3 separate regions of the Homo sapiens genome follow, and regions 2 and 3 are each linked to region 1. The links are contacts of gene promoters, found by promoter capture Hi-C in human tissues and cell types (Jung and others, 2019). All regions are on one chromosome and are shown on one strand. The core of a region is centred on a gene start or on the middle of the fragment in contact, and the rest is flanking DNA. Distances in the headings are between cores, read along the strand shown.

Evidence for each region. The method cuts DNA at HindIII sites, captures the fragments that hold promoters and counts their contacts. A contact is called where the count stands out against the background at its distance.
Region 2: a contact is called between a fragment that was not itself captured here and the fragment with the promoter of RELA in region 1, in 1 of the 25 tissues and cell types used here (dorsolateral prefrontal cortex).
Region 3: a fragment that was not itself captured here is called in contact with the fragment with the promoter of RELA in region 1 in 1 of the 25 tissues and cell types used here (dorsolateral prefrontal cortex).

What each region holds. Positions count from the first base shown.
Region 1 is chr11:65,660,424-65,664,165 of GRCh38, reverse strand. RELA (RELA proto-oncogene, NF-kB subunit) reads left to right here and starts at 1,250. Exons shown (of 11, transcript NM_021975.4): 1 at 1,250-1,340; 2 at 1,961-1,987; 3 at 2,078-2,229; 4 at 2,331-2,479. The coding sequence starts at 1,334. It overlaps RELA-DT (RELA divergent transcript), which reads right to left and starts at 1,160. Exons shown (of 4, transcript NR_183625.1): 1 at 1,018-1,160. RefSeq lists an enhancer at 744-943 and silencers at 1,034-1,443, 1,504-1,563. The HindIII fragment of the contact is 29,460 bases long and covers 1-3,742 here.
Region 2 is chr11:65,892,914-65,897,401 of GRCh38, reverse strand. It overlaps FOSL1 (FOS like 1, AP-1 transcription factor subunit), which reads left to right. Exons shown (of 4, transcript NM_005438.5): 2 at 396-593; 3 at 3,281-3,388; 4 at 4,106-4,488. Among named protein-coding and RNA genes, the nearest start is that of CCDC85B, 4.5 kb to the right of the region's middle. RefSeq lists enhancers at 3,068-3,177, 3,280-3,784. The HindIII fragment of the contact is 3,107 bases long and covers 1,187-4,293 here.
Region 3 is chr11:65,826,807-65,831,294 of GRCh38, reverse strand. All of the region lies in intron 1 of LOC124902693, which reads left to right. Among named protein-coding and RNA genes, the nearest start is that of SNX32, 4.9 kb to the left of the region's middle. RefSeq lists a silencer at 3,143-3,437. The HindIII fragment of the contact is 5,096 bases long and covers 32-4,488 here.

The DNA.
Region 1 (3,742 bases), core at 1-2,500:
GTCACCTGAAGTCGGCCTCCCCCGCCCCCTGCCAAAAGTAAACACTTTTCTAATCAGGGCCAGCCACTGGAGAAACTGAAATGAGTGGGCGGGGTGCTAACTCTATTTTCACTTTTCTCTTCCTGTTTCTTCAGAGCCTGGGAAACAAGTCAGAATTTCCAATCTTTTCCAATTCCCACATGATTTCCTAATTTAAGACGAATTCAGAGAAAATAAAAAAGTCTTTCTCCATCTGGAGAAGACTCCGCCCCCTGCAGTGGAGCATCCTCCTTTGGGGATGAGGCCTGGGGTGGGGGTGCGTCAGCCCCAGCCTCCACACGGACGCGCCTTGGGCTTGGTCTTGGGGGAGCTACCTGCACTGTGGGGTCACATGACAGAATTAGTGGTCAGCCCTAGCTGGAGGTCCAGGGCAAACACAGGCGGGGGCAGGGGGGTGGGGGGTCGTGAGCCTGCTGATTCAAGTGTCCCTGTGGGTCCCGCACCTTCTGAGACACAAGCGCCAGGCTTCAGAGACGAGGCTCCGGGATTTACCCCTGGGGGCCTCCTGCTCCCACAGCCGATGAGAGCCGGCAGTTTGGCTGTATCGTAAGCTGGCGCTTTAGCTGGAGAGGGACGAGCCCTCGGCCAGCTCGCCAGCGGGAGGGCCTCAGTCGTCCCATCCGGGCTGTAGGCTCCGCAAAGCTCTTGATGCACTGTCAGGCTGGGAGGTCCGGCCGCTCCCATTCCCCCACAGCCGCATCTAGATTGGGGTGGGTAGGACATTTTAACGTGCTTCTGAGACAGCCACCACCGAAAGGCACCTTTAGCGGTTAGGAAACCCGCGCGGAGTTCAACCACCCGGCCTCTGCGGAGCAGAAGGCCCGGTCGGGCTTTTCCCTGCGCGGGGCGGGCGGCCGCAGCCCAGTAGCCCTGGCTTTGCTCCAGACCCGGCCCAGAGTGACATCACCAAACTCCGCCGATCGGCGGGAGGGGGCCCTGAAATCCCCTAAAAACAAAGTGAGTAATCGGCGGACCCACCCTCCAGGCGGGGCCGGGACCCGGGAGCTAGCCGAGCCACCGGGCACGCCAGCCTCTTCGTCCTCGGCGAGGCGCGCACTTGGCCCCGACCCCCGGCAGCGGCTGTGCGTGCAGCCTCTTCGTCCTCCGCGCGGCGTGCACTTGCTCCCGGCCCCTGCGCCGGGCGGCGGCGGGGCAGCGCGCAGGCGCGGCCGGATTCCGGGCAGTGACGCGACGGCGGGCCGCGCGGCGCATTTCCGCCTCTGGCGAATGGCTCGTCTGTAGTGCACGCCGCGGGCCCAGCTGCGACCCCGGCCCCGCCCCCGGGACCCCGGCCATGGACGGTGAGGTCGCCCTCTGACCCCGCGGGGTGGCATCGCCGGGGCCGCCGCGGCTGTGGCGGGAGCCCCCGCGCCGCTTTCCGCCCCTTCCTGCGCCGACGGGCGCTGCGCAGGGAGCGGTCGGCCTGCCGGATGGTGGCGCGGGGCGGGGCAGGCGGGGAGGGGTCTGACTCAGTTTCCCCTCTGGGTGGAGGGGGTGGCCCTTGACTCAGCATCCTCCCTGGGTGGGGGAGCAGAGGGAACCTTGACTCAGTTTCCCTCCACACCGTCCATGGGGGCAGCTCTGGCTTCGTTTCCCTATTAGGGGAGAACGCATCTGATTCAGTTTCCTCTCTGGAGGGAGGTGGGGCGTGCCCTCCCTCAATTTTCCTTAAGAAAGTACAACAGGCCCTGATTCAGCTTCCCTCTGGAGAAGAAGGATTCCTTACCCCGTTTTCCCTCAAGAAGCAGGTGTTTCTGGTTCCTTTCCTCCACCCCTTAGTTTCACCGCAGGTTCTAGGGAGCAGGTCCTGACTCAGTTCCCCTGGGAGGGAGCCTGGCTTCTCCTCTCCGTGGAGAGCAGATTCCTCCTTGTGAGAATGGGCATTGGGTGTGTGCTGACCCTGATCTCCCTCCCCTTTCAGAACTGTTCCCCCTCATCTTCCCGGCAGGTAAGTGGCCCCCGCGGCGGTCGGGGAGGTGCTCCCTGGGGTAGGGCAGTGGGGGCAGCCGCCTAATGGGGCTGCGGTGTCCCCTGGCAGAGCCAGCCCAGGCCTCTGGCCCCTATGTGGAGATCATTGAGCAGCCCAAGCAGCGGGGCATGCGCTTCCGCTACAAGTGCGAGGGGCGCTCCGCGGGCAGCATCCCAGGCGAGAGGAGCACAGATACCACCAAGACCCACCCCACCATCAAGGTCAGCACTGCGCCAGGGTGTGCGGGGAAGGGACTGTGGAACCCCAGCCCTCTGTGTTTGGGAGTCAGGTTTGGATGTCTGGGCCTCTGTACTTTGGACAGATCAATGGCTACACAGGACCAGGGACAGTGCGCATCTCCCTGGTCACCAAGGACCCTCCTCACCGGCCTCACCCCCACGAGCTTGTAGGAAAGGACTGCCGGGATGGCTTCTATGAGGCTGAGCTCTGCCCGGACCGCTGCATCCACAGGTGAGGTCCCTGCAGGCTAGGAGGCCCAGCATGAGGGGACAGGAGGCGGGCTATGAAGTAGCCGCTACAGTGTTACTCCTTTCTGGACCCAGGGCAGAATTCCTCACTCCTTGCCCTGACTCAGCTCTGCAAGTAAACTGCCTTTGTCTTGAAATTATCTATTTGTACGTTTACTCTAGCAGATGAGTTCCAGGGGATACGGATGGGTCCCTAATCACTTCTGAATTCCTGACCCCTGTAGCTGGAAGGACAAGTCCCTCAGAGTCACGTCTCTTGTTTGAGGAAGAAAACCATTGAACCAGCACTCTCCCCTGGAGTTGACATTGCAGTTGACAGAGACAGGCTGTAAAAAAATATACAGGCCGGGCATAGTGGCTCATGCTTATAATCCTAGCACTTCGGGAGGCCAAGGCAGGAAGATCTCTTGAGCCTAGGAATTCAAGACTAGCCAAGGCAACATAGTGAGACCCCATGTCTACAAAAAATAAGAAATTAGCTGGGTATGGTGGCATGCGCCTATAGTCCCAGGGAGGCTGAGGTGGGAGGATCGCCTGAGCCCAGGAGGTCACTGCTGCGGCAAGCTATGATTGCACCACTGCACTTGGGTGGCAGGGCGATACCTTGTCTTTTTTTTTTTTTTTTTTTTTTTAAGAAAGAGTCTTGCTCTGTCCCCAGACTGGAGTGCAGTGGCGCGATCTCAGCTCACTGCAACCTCCACCTTCCGGGTTCATGCCATTCTCCTGCCTCAGCTTCCCGAATAGCTGGGACTACAGGTGCCTGCCACCACGCCTGGCTAATTTTTTGTATTTTTTAGTAGAGACAGGGTTTCACCGTGTTAGCCAGGATGGTCTCAATCTCCTGACCTTGTGATCTGCCTGTCTTGGCCTCCCAAAGTGCTGGGATTACAGGCTTGAGCCACCGCACCCGGCCCGACACTGTGTCTCTTAAAAATAAATAAATACACAGATAAATAAACAAGGTGCTGTCAGAGTAACAGTTTCAGTCCTGAAAATAAAACGAGGTCATAGGATAGAAGGATAACCTGGGGTGGGGGAGTTAGGGGAGCTGGTGTGTGATGACTTTAGATTGGGAGGTCAGGGAAGGCCTCCCTCAGCTAAGACTTGAATGGTGAGAAGGAGGAGAGAAGTAGGAAAAGAACATTCCAAGCCGACCAAACAAGTGCAAAGGCCTTGAGGTGGGAATGAGTGTCCTGTGTTTAGAGAGTGGAAAAGGAGCCCCGGTGGCTGTAAGCAGGGAGCCCAC
Region 2 (4,488 bases), core at 1,491-3,990, 230 kb before region 1:
TGCCACTACACTCCAGCCTGGGCAACAGAGTGAGACTCCATCTGAAAAAAAAAAAAGAAAAAAAAGAAAGAAAAGAAAATGAAGATATTACTGTGCCAATGATATGAGTCAGTATTTGTAAAGTGGTTAGAACAGTTCCTGGCAGTTTGTGCTTTATAAATGTTAGTTCTAATGGGGAAATGGGGGCACAGAGAGGTTATGTGACCTGCCCCAAAGCCACACAGCTTATGAGCAGGGATTTGCCACCAGGTCAGTCTCTGACTGCCAAGCTGTGCTCTTTCTGTTCCCAGAGCTAGCCTGTACATTGAAGGTAGACAGCAGTGTAGCCTCTGCCCAGTGGAAGCCCCTCAATCCACACGGACCTCATCTGTGGCCTTCCATTTCTTATTCCTTAGAAGTTCCACCTGGTGCCAAGCATCAACACCATGAGTGGCAGTCAGGAGCTGCAGTGGATGGTACAGCCTCATTTCCTGGGGCCCAGCAGTTACCCCAGGCCTCTGACCTACCCTCAGTACAGCCCCCCACAACCCCGGCCAGGAGTCATCCGGGCCCTGGGGCCGCCTCCAGGGGTACGTCGAAGGCCTTGTGAACAGGTAAGGCACAGAGGCATTGCAGTGGTTCCGACCCCGCCCAGGAGTGCTAGGGTGCAGAGAAGCTCCTGCCAGAAAGGAGAGCACAGGCTTAGGAGGGGGTAAGGTAGGCTACAGGTGACTACTGCCCAAGGCTGAAAGTGATAGGAGCCCCACGGGAGGCCCAGAGGGTACAACAGTCACTTCCAGATCAGGGAAAGCTTCCTGGAAAAGGTGGCATATTAGCCTAGAAGGATGGGTAGGACTGGCAGAGGCAGAGAGGAAGGAAAGGACATTCCAGGTAGCGGGGGTGGCAGGAGCAAGGATGGAGGCGGAGGCAAGAACATGTAAGGTGCGCACACGGAATGGTGAGGGGGTCTCCACCTGCTGACATGCATAGAGGGGGCGCTTATGTTGTCTGGGAGAGAACAGGAACAAGAGGGTTCCCTTCAGCTACTCCCTCAGTCTCAGTTTCCCTGTCTCATTTAATCCTCACAAAATCTCTCTGGGGAATGTACTCTGGTTTTCCCCATCTTCCACCAAAGAAATGAAGGCACAGAAGGGTAGTCACTTGCCCAAGATCACACAAGTAGTGAGTAATGACACAGGACTGGCCTTGGCCCCAGGTCTATACAACTCTAAAGTCAGATCCTAACCACCAAACCAGGGCCAGGTGCAGTAGCTCATGCCTGTAATCCCAGCACTTTGAGAGACCTAGGCAGGAGGATCACTTGAGGCCAGGAGTTCAAGACTAGGTTGGGCAACATAGAGAGACCCTGTCTCTACCGAAAAAACAAAATAAAATAAAACCCCCAAAACTAATCACCAAGCCACGCTGTCTCACTGGAAGCTAACAGAAGGCTCAAAGTAGAGGGAACTGACAATTCTTGGCTCCCCAAAGCCCTTACCAAAATAAGTGAGTAAGAGATGGCGAGTCTTTAAAGGAGTGGCTCATCTTTCCTCTCCCTGGGGCATTTTGGTGTGGGAGACTACAGGGGATGAGGTTAAAAAGCTTGGTCGGCAGGTAGAGGATGGGGAGAGAGGTTAGGGCCCTGGGAAAGGTGAGAGATCAGCCAGAGACAGGTTTCCCAGAACAGAATGTCTGGCCTTTGTGGTGAGGAGGGACTGTGGTATGAGCCGCAGAAGCGGGCCAGGGGTAAACCCTCCTGTGCGTCCTTCCTTCAGCCTGGTCCTGAGGGTGACCCTTTGATCCTGGGTTCTCCAGGTAGGGCTGTGAGCTGTGAGTTGGATCCTTTTGGTGAAATGGTCTCTCTCATCTGGCCTGTCACTCAATGTGGAATAGAGTGAGTGAGTTCTATGGGTTCTAAGTCCTGCTCTGGAACCATAAGTAAGTTATCCTCTCTGGGCTTCAGTTTTTCATGGAAAGTTGCGTTAAGAATCTAGTTTAAGGCCAGGCATGGTGGCTCACGCCTGTAATCCCAGCACTTTGGGAGGCCAAGGAAGGTGGATCATGAGGTCAGGAGATCGAGACCATCCTGGCTAACATGATGAAACCGTGTCTCTACTAAAAAATACAAAAAATTAGCTGGGCGTGGTGGAAGGCACCTGTAGTCGCAGCTACTCGGGAGGCTGAGGCAGGAGAATGGCGTGAACCCCGGAGGCGGAGCTTGCAGTGAGCCGAGATGGCACCACTGCACTCCAGCCTGGGCAACAGAGTGAGACTCCGTCTCAAAAAAAAAAAAAAAAAAGAATCTATGTTTTTTTAAAAAAGAGGCCAGCTGTGGTGACTCCCCCTGGTAATCCAAACATTCTAGGAGGCCAGTGCAGGAGGATCCCTTGAGCCCATGAGTTCCAGACCAGCCTGGGCAACACAGTGAGACCCCGTCACTACACAAAAAAAAAAAAGAAAAAAAAAGGCCGAGCACAGTGGCTCATGCCTGTAATCCCAGCACTTTGGGAGGCTGAGGAGGGTGGATCACCTGAGGTTAAGAGTTCAAGACCAGCCTGGCCAACATGGTGAAACCTCGTCTCTACTAAAAATACAAAAATTAGCCAGGTGTGGTGGTACATGCCTGTAATCCCAGCTACTTGGGAGGCTGAGGCACGAGAATCACTTGAACCCAGTAGGTGGAGGTTGCAGTGAGCCAAGATTGGGCCAATGCACTCCAGCCTGGGAAAGAGTGAGACTCTGTCTAAAAAAAATAAAATAAAATAAAATAAAATCTTTGCATGTTCTCAGTGAAAAACAAGAATCTACGTAAAGTACTTGGCTGGCACATAGTAGTTTTCCAATAAATTGCAACTTAATCAGCAGCACTCATTAGCCCCTCCTAGTGCTTACAGCTCATGGAAGAGGAGACTTGGTTGTCCACAGATCCAGAAGGATGAGGGTCCTGCAAAGAGGGTGCTGAGAAGGAAAGGTCACTTCTGGCTGGGGAATAAGACGGCTTCCTGGAGGCAGGAGCATCTTAGTTGAGTCCTGGGAGATGAGGAGGGTTAGGGTTTGCGGAGGGGGAGGGCATTATGGGAGAGGAATGTGCACTAAAGCTAGGTGCGAGGAGGAAATTTTACCAATCAAAGCAGACAGCGCCTCAGTGCAGGGAACTGGTTGGGTGCAGTGATCCCTAAATCACCGGCTGAGGGGGCCCTGCCATGACCTCTGCCAGGGTCCTACCACTGGGCCACCATGAGGGGCGAGTTCCAGGCAGCCAGTAGCCCAGGGTCCTCCTCACTGCGGGTCTCACCCCCAGATCAGCCCGGAGGAAGAGGAGCGCCGCCGAGTAAGGCGCGAGCGGAACAAGCTGGCTGCGGCCAAGTGCAGGAACCGGAGGAAGGAACTGACCGACTTCCTGCAGGCGGTGAGCACCAGCCCTGGTCCACCGAGCTCAGAGGGACCCTGTCTCCCAGAGCCCCCAGAGCCCCAGTATATGTAGCCCCCTCCTCACCATCCTAGCTCCTTGTCTGAGGGGCAGTCCTTCTGGGAAAATGATGAGGAAAAATTGATTAGAAACTGGCTGCAGCATGTCTCACTCACAGCAGAGCTGAAGCTCAGCCAGCAATCTCCTTTTTTTTTTGAGACAGAGTCTCGCTCTGTCACCCAGGCTGGAGTGCAGTGATGAGATCTCGGCTCATGGCTCACTGTGACATCTGTCTCCCAGGCTCCAGCAATTCTTATGCCTCAGCCTGCTGAGTACCTGGGGCTACAGGCGCCTGCCTCCCTACCCGACTAATTTTTGTATTTTTAGTAGAGACGGGGTTTCGCCAAGTTAGCCAGGCTGGTCTCAAACTCCTGGTCTCAAGTGATCCGCCCGCCTCAGCCTCCCAAAGTGCTGGGATTACAGGCCGGAGTCACTGCCTGGTGCCAGCAATCTCCTAAAACGTCTGGGCCTGATGGGAGTTGTGCCCATTTTCTCCCAGGGGCTTATGGGAGTTGTAGTCCAGACTTGCTGGGGACTCTCCACTGCCCCCCCTCTCCCCCCGCCCAACCCCAGCTCCTCAGAACCCTGAGTCCAAACGTCTGCGGCTCTGGGGTATTCAGCCCTCACCTTTCTGACTCCTCTCCTGATCTTCTACAGGAGACTGACAAACTGGAAGATGAGAAATCTGGGCTGCAGCGAGAGATTGAGGAGCTGCAGAAGCAGAAGGAGCGCCTAGAGCTGGTGCTGGAAGCCCACCGACCCATCTGCAAAATCCCGGAAGGAGCCAAGGAGGGGGACACAGGCAGTACCAGTGGCACCAGCAGCCCACCAGCCCCCTGCCGCCCTGTACCTTGTATCTCCCTTTCCCCAGGGCCTGTGCTTGAACCTGAGGCACTGCACACCCCCACACTCATGACCACACCCTCCCTAACTCCTTTCACCCCCAGCCTGGTCTTCACCTACCCCAGCACTCCTGAGCCTTGTGCCTCAGCTCATCGCAAGAGTAGCAGCAGCAGCGGAGACCCATCCTCTGACCCCCT
Region 3 (4,488 bases), core at 1,330-3,829, 170 kb before region 1:
TGTCCTTCATTATTTCCTTTTCTTTTCTTTTCTTTTCTTTCTTTCTTTCTTTCTTTTTCTTTTTTCTTTTTTTTTTTTGAGACAGTCTTGCTCTGTTGCCCAGGTTGGAGTGTGCAGTGGCGCAATCTCGGCTCACTGCAACCTCTGCCTCCCAGGCTCAAGCGATTCTCCTGTCTCAGCCTCCCAAGTAGCTGGGATTACAGACATGTGCCACCATGCCTGGCTAATTCCCTCACTATCTTCTAACTTCCAAGTATTGCTATTTATAAGTCTTTTTGTTCTTTTCTTTTAATTCTATAGATAGTGTTTTTTTCTATGTAAATTACCTGTTTGCTACCACTCCCTAACTCAACCTGTATCCTCACCCCATTTTCTCTGGCCTTACTAGAGGATGTTAGACCTTGAATTATAGCTGTTATCTTTTTTTCTCCTTTTGCCCGTCTCTTTTTATTGTATTCTCTGGGCAATTTCATTAACTTTAAAACAATTGATGTATAGTAGATGTACGTATTTTGGGGGTACCTGTAATATTTTGATACATTCATATAATGTGTAAAGATCAAATCAGGGCAATTGGGATATCCATCATCTTAAATATTTATCTTTTCTTTATGCCAGGAACATTCGAATCATTCTCTTCTAGTGATTTTGAAATGTACAATAGATTATTGTTAACTACAGTCACCCTACTGATCTATAGAACACTGGGTCCCATTTCTTCCATCTAACTGTACATTTCTACTCATTAACATGTCTTTATTTCCTCCACCCTTCCTGGCCTCCAGTAACCACCAATCTCATCTCTATTTTCATGAGATCCACTTTCAACTTTATTAACTGTATCTTTCTTTCTTATTGAAATTTTACATTTTAACTCTCTTGTTCATTGATTGCTTTTTTTTTTTTTTTTGAGATGGAGTCTGGAGTCTTGCTCTGTCACCCAGGCTGGAGTGTAATGGCGTGATCTTGGCTCACTGCAACCTCCGCCTCCCCGGTTCAAGCAATTCTCCTGACTTAGCCTCCTGTGCTCACTGCATGAGCTGGGATTACAGGAATGCATCACCACACCCGGCTAATTTTTTGTATTTTTAGTAGAAACGGGGTTCCACCATGTTGGTCAGGCTGGTTTTGAACTCCTGACCTCAGGTGATCCACCCATCTTGGCCTCCCAAAGTGCTGGGATTACAGGCGTGAGCCACCGAGCCCGGCCGTGCTTCTTTTTTTATATATAGTATTTCTGTTCTTGTTTCATGAGTCTGTTCTCTTAGCTCTCCAAGGATTTTTCCAGTTTTTAAGTTTTCTTCTGCTTTTCTTATTGTTTCCCCTGAGTTCCCCTCCCCTGCTTCCCCCCGCTCCATTTTTTTTGTGTGTGTATTGTTGGAAGTTTTCCTCAAATGTTTGATCTTCGGCTGTCCATATTTAAGAATGAGGCATTAAGCAGAGGCAATTGGAAGCACAATTTGGGGCTTGTTGATCTATGGGCTTCACTCTGTGGCGACTGAAGCAAGCAGGATATTTTACTGGGTACACCCAAATATCAGAATCTGTAAATCTCACTGAAGGGACCGTCTGGTTTCTACAGAGAATTCTCCAATCTGTCTGGGGGATATCTGCATGGCCCCTGCTATAGAGGTTACAGCAGCAGGGTCAGGGGAGACGGTTGTGGAGCCACCGCTTGGTACATATGTTTTTACCCAGTCCCTTGTTTTCAGCTCAGTGCTCACTCCACCTTCAGCTGTGCCTGGTGTCCCTGAGTTGGTGCTTCTCAGATTCAGTTTCCCCAAAGAGTAAACCCTCTGCTGTGCTATGGGAGTTGGTGCCCAGCTAAAAAAGGTTGGGGAGGGGATTTGTAAGCTTAACTGCTTTATATACAGACTCCTAAATAATTTCTCTGTTCTCAGCTCTATGCCTTTTTCCTTCCATCTGAGCTATCTGGTCCCTCCATGTCCTGAACTTTTTTGGGGATAAGTAGAGTGAACTGTTAACTTTTCGTTTCTATTATCTTTAAGCACTTAAGTGCCAGCTGCCTCCACTCTGCCAAGTTGGTTACCACTCCATCTCCAAACTTTTTTTTTTTTTGTCATTGTTGTTGTTTTTGAAATAGGGTCTCACTCTGTCACTCAGGCTGGAGTGCAGTGGCATGATCATGGCTCACTGCAGCCTCAACCTTCTAGGCTGAAGCAATCTCCTCAGCCTCCCAAGTAGCTGGGACTACAGGTGTACACCACCACAAGAGACTAGTTTTTTTTTTTTTTTAAGTAGAGATGAGGTCTCTCTATGTTGCCCAGGCAGGTCTTGAACTTCTGGGCTCAAGCGATCCTCCTGCCTCTACCCGAAAGTGCTGAGATTACCGACATGAGCCACTGCACCCCGCCAACTTTTCCCATCTTAAAAAACAAAAACAAAAAACTTCTCTGTACCCTACATTTCCCTCTAGTACTGTCCCATTTTTCTTGCTCCTTAAGGTAGGCACAAAAGTGGTCCGCCAAAGATATATTCACTTCCTAATCCCAGGAACCTGTGAATATTACCTTAATATGGCAAAAGATGTAATTAAGTTAAAGATCTTGAGAGAAGGGCCCACTTTAGAGGTGGGTCGTAAATGCCATTACAAGTGTCCTTGTAAGAGAGAGGAAGAGAAGGAGAACAGACACACAGAGAGGAGGAGGCAGTGTGATCTCCCAGGCACAGGCTGGAGTTATGCAGCTACGAGTCAAGGAGTGCCGATGGTCGCCTGAAGTTGGAAGAGGCACAGAATGGATTCTTCCCCAGAGTCTCTGTAGAGAGTGTGGCCTCCGCCAACACCTTGGTTTTAGCATCTGACCTCTAGAGCTGTGAGAGAATAAACCTCTATTGTTTTAAGCCATCAGTTGCTGGTAATTATTATTATTTTTTTTGAGACAGAGTCTCACACTGTTGCCCAGGCTGGAGTGCAGTGGCGCGATCTCGGCTCACTGCAAGCTCCACCTTCTGGGTTCATGCCATTCTCCTGCCTCAGCCTCCCCAGTAGCTGGGACTACAGGCGCCCGCCACCATCCCCGGCTAATTTTTATATTTATTAGTAGAGACGAGGTTTCTCCATGTTGGCCAGGCTGGTCTCGAACTCCTGACCTTGTGATGTGCCCGCCTCAGCCTCCCAAAGTGCTGGGATTACAGGCATGAGCCACCACGCCCAGCCGTAGTTCGTTCATCTGTCTGCTATAGTTCCTGTAGTTCTGTAGTTCCAGTTCCTGGAAGTTGAGGCTAGAGGCCCTGGCTTCTCTTTCTCCATCACGTTCATCACCTTCTGACTCAGAACTTTCCTACTGTAGCTGTTTACATCTATCTGTCCTCACTAGGATGTAAATGAGCTCTATGAGGGCAGCAATATGTGTCAGTCTGGTTACCCTCTCTAGTCCAGTGTGTAACCAGCCCATAGTAGCACTCAGCATGTGTCTGCAGAATAAATCAACCCATCATATTCAGTGACTTCATCAGTCTCAGTACTATTTAATATCTATTGAGAAATTGCTATAATAATTTACCCTGTTTCTTAGAATGTCACATTTTTTGAAACCTCAAAAGCCTGAAACTGTCTTTGTTCCATACTTGTACTTGAGGTTTTTCTGGATATAGAGTTTCCCTCAGCAGCCTGAAGATGTGCGCCTTTGTTTTCTTCCTTTCTGCATGGCCATTGAGAGTCCAGATCTATTTCTAAGCTGAGCCAGTTGCACAACCAGGCGTTCTGTGTATGAGATCTGTTTGCTTCTCCCCAGCTCCGCTATTTCTCCTTCTTTATTGGGCAGAAGCTGATAGCTTGCTCTTTCATTTTCTAGGAACTCTGATCCCATTGTTAGACAATAAAGTGGAGATATTAATAGGGAGTGGGCAGAGTTGTAAAGATAAGCTATAGATGGCTCAAGCCTCATGGTAGGATCTTCTTGACAAATGATTATAATAGCTAACATTTACTGAATTCTTGTAATAATCAGGGTAATTTAATCAGCACCATGCTAAGCACTTTACATGTTCTCTATAATTTAGTCCAATAGCTCTTTGAGATAGGAACTATTACTCTATCGACTCTACCCAGTAGACACTGCCAGAGCCAGGCACAGAGTCCAGGCAGCCTGACTCCAGAGCTGAGCTGGAAACCGCTCTGTCTGCTGAATGGCCTCCTCTATTCCTACCAGACAAGCCCTGAACCTTGGCTTCCTCACCTGCCAAAGCAAGGCCTGGGATCCTGAATGGGGGTAGGGAATGAGGCTGTGCAGCAACCCCTCCATTCATTCGGCGCATACTTACTGGATGAGCGCTTCAGTGGCAAGTATTTAAGAATATAAATGTTGGTGGGGTGCGGTAGCTCACACCTGTACTCTCAGCACTTTGGGAGGCCGAGGCGGGCGGATCACCTGAGGTCAAGAGTTTAAGACCAGCCTGGCCAACATGGTGAAACCCCGTCTCTACTAAAAATACAAAAATTAGCCAGATGTGGTGGCTCACGCCTGT